Linked DNA regions of Homo sapiens: region 1 is linked to region 2. The links are contacts of gene promoters, found by promoter capture Hi-C in blood cells and fetal thymus (Javierre and others, 2016). All regions are on one chromosome and are shown on one strand. Each heading gives the region's core, a stretch centred on a gene start or on the middle of the fragment in contact. The rest is flanking DNA. Distances are from core to core; before and after follow the strand shown.

The links. The method cuts DNA at HindIII sites, captures the fragments that hold promoters and counts their contacts. A CHiCAGO score of 5 or more calls a contact.
Region 1: a fragment that was not itself captured here is called in contact with the fragment with the promoter of NOL3 in region 2 in 9 of 17 cell types (activated CD4 T cells, naive CD4 T cells, total CD8 T cells and 6 more); the score reaches 9.1 in activated CD4 T cells.

The regions. Positions count from the first base shown.
Region 1 is chr16:67,042,471-67,046,026 of GRCh38, forward strand. All of the region lies in intron 3 of CBFB (core-binding factor subunit beta), which reads left to right. Among named protein-coding and RNA genes, the nearest start is that of CBFB, 15 kb to the left of the region's middle. The HindIII fragment of the contact is 688 bases long and covers 1,715-2,402 here.
Region 2 is chr16:67,168,554-67,171,802 of GRCh38, forward strand. It overlaps NOL3 (nucleolar protein 3), which reads left to right and starts at 1,985. Exons shown (of 4, transcript NM_001276309.3): 1 at 1,985-2,021. It overlaps HSF4 (heat shock transcription factor 4), which reads left to right. Exons shown (of 13, transcript NM_001374675.1): 10 at 278-383; 11 at 483-548; 12 at 726-795; 13 at 1,078-1,388. The coding sequence ends at 1,232. RefSeq lists enhancers at 1,042-1,091, 1,582-1,731 and a silencer at 1,942-2,231. The HindIII fragment of the contact is 13,408 bases long and covers 1-3,249 here.

The sequences.
Region 1 (3,556 bases), core at 809-3,308, 130 kb before region 2:
CCCATGTAGATGCTACCACAGTCAAGATATATTTCAGTCACCCCCCCAAAGGTTTCCTTGTGCCCCTTTGCAGGAACCTGGGACTGACTGCACTGGGTGGTTCTGCCTCAGTGTCTCTCATGAGGTTGCAGTCAAGCTTTTGCCTGGGACTGTGCAGTCTCTGAAGACTTGACTAGAACTGAAGGATCTGCCTGTTGGTAGGTGGCTTCACTTCCTAGTCATGCTTCTCCATAGAGAGAAAAAGAGTGAAGCCACCATGCCTTTTATTTATTTATTTATTTATTTGAGACGGGGTCTTGCTCTGTCATCCAGGCTGGAGTGCAGTGGCGTAATCTCAGCTCTACAACCTCTGCCTGCCGGGTTCAAGCAATTCTCCTTCCTCAGCCTCTCAAGTAGCTGGGATTACAGGCACATGCCACCACATGTGGCTAATTTTTGTACTTTTAGTAGAGACAGGGTTTCACCATGTTGGCCAGGCTGGTCTCAAACTCCTAACATCAGGTGATCTGCCTGCCTCAGCCTCCCAAAGTGCTGGGATTACAGGTGTGAGCCACTGCGCCTGGTCCACCATGCCTTTTATGATCCATTCTTCAAGTCACTTTCATACCTTTTATGATCTATTATTTGAGTCACTTGTTGCTTAGCCTGTTCATTAGAAGCTGGTCACTAAGTCTAGCCCACATTCAACAGGGAGGGAGGGATTACACAGGGGTGTGAATACCAGGAGGCTGGGATCATTGAGGCCATCTTGGAGGCCAGCTACAATAATACTCACTTAAATTTAGCGAACTCAGAAAAAATTAGAATCCTAATAGAGCGGAAACAAAAAGCTCTATATTCTCTATTATTTGAAATACAGTTTTATGATTTAAGAAAATGGGCTCATAGAAATTAGTCCTTTTATTCATTCTGTTGCTTATGTGGCTATAGAATATTTTCAAATCAAGGGCTTCTATAAGGAAGGTCTGTTAACGGGTGACTGATTATAAGTATATACCTTACATATGACCAAGTCAGAGCACAGAATTTTATAATCCTTCAAATATATTTGAAACTTTTATACCCAGGTACCTGGTGAGCTGTCTACATTGGCTCTTAATAAGGATCTTTCTCAGAAATGATTTAAACTAATAACAGTATAATAGAAAGAGCTCTAGATTTGAGTCAAGACAGTCATAACTATTTTCCTTAACATGTAAATGAGGATCAGAATGTCTGCCCTATTCATGTGCCTCATGTGAGAATTAAATGTAGTACCAGAATATGTGAAAATGCCTTTTAAATTGTAAACCCCTGTCTACAGTTAGGCAATTTGATGGTTCTGTAGGGTGAGATTATAGCTAACTGATTGATAGAGTGTTTGTGCTACAGTGTGCCTTAGGTAAGCTTCACGTCAGGTAGTTGAACAATGTTGGAACACTACATCTTTCCCAAGTGTTCCATCCTGGTGTGTTACAAACACTGGCAGCCAAAATGTTCTTAATTCTTTAATCTAGCTGTCAAAAGACAAGGGAAAAGCAACTAATCAGAATTTAAATCATTCTTAAGTTAAAATTGTGTAGACCAGGCAACTCCAGTTCCTTTGATCTTTCCTCTTAGGACTTATTTCCAATTACTTTTATTTCAAATAAATGCAAGTGATTATGGTTGACCATAAATTATTAGTCTTGAGTGGTCAGATTAATGGTTTTTACATGTATTCTGTGTCTCATAAAGCTTCATTGGGATTTTGAAATAATGATTGGATGTACTTACTTTGCGATCCCAGTTTATGACTTTAAAGATAAGGGGTATGAAAATCATTTCATAAAAGGAAAAAAATGAACTTTACAGTGCTACTGTTCATTTTTTTCTGTGGAAATTGAATATGCTATCTCGTTTTTACCACATTGACCTCAGAAAAAGAGAGGTTAAACTTTTCTATGGTTGTTACATTCTTGTTTATAGCTTATGATTTTAATTGATAGTCAAATACATTAATGTCAGACATCGAGAAGTATTTATTAAGTATATGTCATTAGAGTAGCTACTTTTAAAAATTTTGATAAGTTGTATTTTTTTTCTTTCTGGACTTTATACTTAAAAGTCTTTTAATTTATTTTTATGAGCATAAAATAAAGCAAAATCTAACAAGATTGGATTTAATGAGTGAGGACAGAATTTTATTTTAAATGGCCTTTTCTAATAAAGGTCTATGATTCTGCTTCTTCTGGTACCATTTACGCACTTGCCTGCAGGATCTTTGTCCCAAAATACATATTGTGTTTGTTTATATACCATCCACAATTTGGCAGAGTTTACAGGACTTCTTGATGTTAGCTTTGAGAAATCCCTATTTAAGCTCAAGAAGTTCCTTCTCTGTAGATAGCCCAGTCATTCCAAATAAAAGATCTCTATGGTAAAGCTTTGGAGTGTGATTTTCTTCAAGAGAAATTAGACAACTTTACAAATACCTTGTCACATCTGGATTTTAAGTATTTCAGTTCGACTAAAATATGAATTGACAGCACTTAGTTATTGACAGTTTAGTGTATTGAAATCTGGTTTTTAAAAATATGCTTTAGATAAACTATAATACTCTAATAATAACGGAATCATAAAATTTAGAACTGGTAACTGCAAGCTTATATATATATATATATTTGACACCTTTGTAGCTGGCAGAGCGTTTGTATTTTTAAAGAAAAGTTTTTATTTTAGTTATTTTAGTTATTTTTCAATCTAAGAGAGGAAGTCGACTTTCTGAAAAAATTAAAATGTTTTGGCTAGGTGGGGTGGTTCATGCCTGTAATCCCAGCACTTTGGGAGGCCGAGGCAGGTGGATCACCTGAGGTCAGGAGTTCGAGACCAGACTGGCCAACGTGATGAAACCCCACCTCTACTAAAAATACAAAAAATTAGCCAGGTATGCTGGCATGTGCCTGTAATCCCAGCTACTTGGGAGACTGAGGCAGGAGAATTGCTTGAACCCGGGAGGCGGAGGTTGCAGTGGGCTGAGATTGTACCACAACACTCCAGCCTGGGCAACAGAGCAAGACTCTGTCTGAAAAAAAAAAAATTAAAATGTTTTAAAATTAGTATGTCATAGTACCTTCCAGTTAGAGTACGTGAATCTGCATACATGGTAAATGCACCTCTGAAGCACTTGAAGATTGTGAAGTCCCGTTTTCTCTTCTTTTGGATTGCATTATTTCCATTTTAGTGTAAAGGTGAAATTCTCTTTCATGACCTTTCCTGAATTACATATTCCAAGTGAGAGAAGGCAGAAATAATATGTCTGAGAAGAGCATCCTTCACTCTTCCCCTCCTTCCTTCTACTTTCTACATTTTTTTTTTTTTTTTTGAGACAGTGTCTTGCTCTGTCATCCAGGCTGGAGTGCAGTGATGTAATCTTGGCTCACTGCAACCTCCGCCTCCCAGGTTCAAGCGATTCTCCTGCCTCAGCCTCCCAAGTAGCTGGGATTACAGGCACCCGCCACCACACCTGGCTAATTTTTGTGTTTTTATTGGAGATGGGGTTTCACCATTTTGGCCAGGCTGGTCTCAAACTCCTGAC
Region 2 (3,249 bases), core at 735-3,234:
AAGAGAAAGAAGCATGGATATTGATACTTGCATAGGGAGGGGAAGGGTCCCAAAGCCCCAGCTCCACCACCCAAACTTCAGGTCCCAGGTAGGAAGCAGAGGCACTTTCTCTGTGCCATTTATGGCAGGAGTGGGGAGGTTGGGGGTGGAGAGAGGATGGGGATCCTCTCCTATCATTTTCTAAAGATTGGGGGATTAAAATCTTGATGCATCTGGGTTCCTTGGGAACTTAATGCGGGGTGGACACTGCAGGCCAAAAGCAGTTCTGTCTGCACAGGGGGCCTCTGGGCCTGGAAAGCGGGGACAGGAGCCCAGAGAGTCTGCTGCCTCCGATGCTGCTTCAGCCCCCTCAAGAAAGTGTGGAACCTGCAGGGCCTCTAGATGTGAGTACCCCTTCTGCTGAAACAGGGGCATGAGACCTGGTGGGGTCTAGCTCTCTGTGGAGCCTGGGGAGGGCACCACTGACCCAGAGCTCTCCTCAGGTGCTGGGCCCCAGTCTCCAAGGGCGAGAATGGACCCTGATGGACTTGGACATGGAGCTGTCCTTGGTAAGAAGTGGGTCGGGGAGGGCAGAGGCCAGGGGTGGCTGAGTCAAGCCCTCTGGTCCATAGCTGTTCTCTGTGAGCCAAAGCCGTGTCTCTAGAAGAATTGTCACAGTGATTTCCCAGCTGTCCCCCTCAGCTGCTAGGTCCCCTCCCCAGCTGCTCCCTGCGGTTCTCACGCAGATGCAGCCCTTGGTTCCAGAGCGGGGTGAGCCTGAGCTGGCGGTCAAGGGGTTAAATTCTCCAAGCCCAGGTAATGGTTGTGATGACTCCTACCTGGGAGGACGCCGTGATTGGGCTGAGCTACCTTGATTGAGTGAGGGGGCAATCTGCAATTTGCAGGGAAATCCTGAGTTCAGGCTGCACTGCAGAGCGTTCCTTGAGCCACCCATGCCCTCACCATTGGGCGAGAGTGGGGAGGTTAAGAATGGATGTTTTATCCTAACTGAGCAGAAGGCAGGCGGGCAGGGCTCTCCTTCCCTGAAGAAAGGAGGGGGAACATTTCCCCTGGTGAGCGCAGTCCCACTTCTCCTAGGGAAGGACCCCACGCTCGGGGCCCCACTCCTGCTGGATGTCCAGGCGGCCTTGGGAGGCCCAGCCCTGGGCCTGCCTGGGGCTTTAACCATTTATAGCACTCCTGAGAGCCGGACTGCCTCCTACTTGGGCCCGGAAGCCAGTCCCTCCCCCTAAGACCCCGCGCCTCTGAAGGGGCTTGGAACCAGTCCGCCGCTGCACATCCTTCTTGGCTTCCTGGCGCCCCCTATCGGGGGTGAGCGAAGCCCCCACTACTAAATGGCCTCTCTCCACTACCCCGACTATCCCTGCACATAAACTCCGTTTTTTTTTTTTCTGTTTCTGGTCTCTTTTCTCTATCGACCAGGGAGCACAGGAGTTATGGGTGGGGGGTGATTTTGCATTTGTAGAAGCGTCCAGATACTAGGTTTTTAATAGAGGAACCCCAGGAGGGTGGAGGTGCTTGGGGATCCGGTGCCTAGCTCCCTTGCTTAGGCCCGGGTCCAGGGCTGGCGCGGGGCCGCTGCAATCTCTGGGAAGCGGGGGCTTCTGGGTCGCGCTCAGCTCTGCAATGCATGCGTTCTGTGATCCTGGTGAGTTGGTATCCTTCTCTGAACTTCCTCTGTGACAGGCAGAGAAGAGGGGTCGATGACAAGATAGATGGAAAGCACCTGGAAATTGGCAGGCCCTGAGTGGGCGCTGGACGTGTGGGGCCGCGGGCCGAACTGCCCCCTCCTGGCCTCATCTCCTGGTGCGCCCCGGGTGGGGAGGGAAAGCTGACTACATGCACGTCCCCAGCCAGCGCGCGGCCTCCGCGGTGTGGCTCCTAGTGCCCGGGGAAGAACCCTCACCCTCCCTATTCCCAGCAGCCCTGGCCGCCCCGCCCCCGCCGCAGCTGCTGCACCCACCCCCACCCTGCCCGGCCCTTTCTGCACCGTCATCTCCTGCCCCGCCGAGGCTTGACCCGTGAGTGGGGACGCCCAAAACGGGCCAGACCGGGAGCCCCACTCCCGGCTGTGGGAGGGAAGGGAAACCGAGATTGGGCAGAATCAGCGCCCCACCACCCGCTGCGGCGCTCGGGGGTCGGGGGGGCGGGGTGGGTAGGACTGTGGGCCCCGCCCTGCCGCAGGACTCTCAAGCTCTGGGACTGGGTGGAGGGAGGTAAGGGGCGGGGGGGGAAAATCCGTGCAGTCGCACATGCGCAAAGGCTCTTCACTGTCCCAAGACCCTGGCTTCCTGGCCAAAGAGCCCGCGCAGCGAGGTGGGGTTGGGGGCTGGGACCCAGCTCCGTGCCCCGCCACCTGGCTCTCTGGGAAGAATCGGACCTGTCACCCTCGAAGGACTGGCCGCTAAATAACTTCGGTATTGAGAGCTGTGTGAGCCTCAAAGGGAGGGCCCAGACCAGCTGGAGTCTCTACCCCCAGACAGGATAAAGGGCAGGACTTGGGGTCATAGGAGGAGGCGGCTAACATGAAAACAACTTAGGTTGGAGAGAAGGAGGGGCCAATCCAATCTGCACCCTCCCTGTGTCTGTCCCGAGTAGGTGCTGTCCCCCTCTCCCTTCCTTTGCCCACCGATTGGAGGGACACTCTGGAAAACTCAGTTGAAGAAAGCGGAGAGTCTGCGTGTACACAGTGCAATGATGTCAGTTAATGCACTAGTGAGGGCATGTGTTGTTCACGGTACACAGAAGAAGGAACCACCAGCCCTTGGGACACTTAGGCATTGGTGTAGACAAGGGAACATTTGAGTCCTGGACGATGGATAGGTCCACGGAGCGGAGGGAGGAGAAAAGGATTCCAGTCTTAGCGATCAGCATCAGCAAAGGCTCCGAGGTGCCAGAGGCATAGTGAGTTCTCCGATCCCTGGCTGGTGGAGGGAAGCTGGGAAGGGCCTGGCTGTCCAGGGTGGTGGGAGGAGGCTAGAGTAGCCAGACCAGATATTTTGGGTTGTCTCTGATGGGCAGTGGGGTGTGGGGGGGAGGTAGATAGGTATTTAGGATGGAATTCTGCTAGACAGGAAAATATAGTTCAGTTCCTCATAGTTCAGGCTGGAGCAAGTAAGATTCCAGTTTTACCACTGAATCTCTGAGCCTGTCTCCTCATCTGTAAAATGGGAACAGCAATCCTAGCCCAGAGGGTTGTCAAAGTCACTGTGCTATCGGGCCTGGCAGAATGGGAGTGAGAGGGGCTCA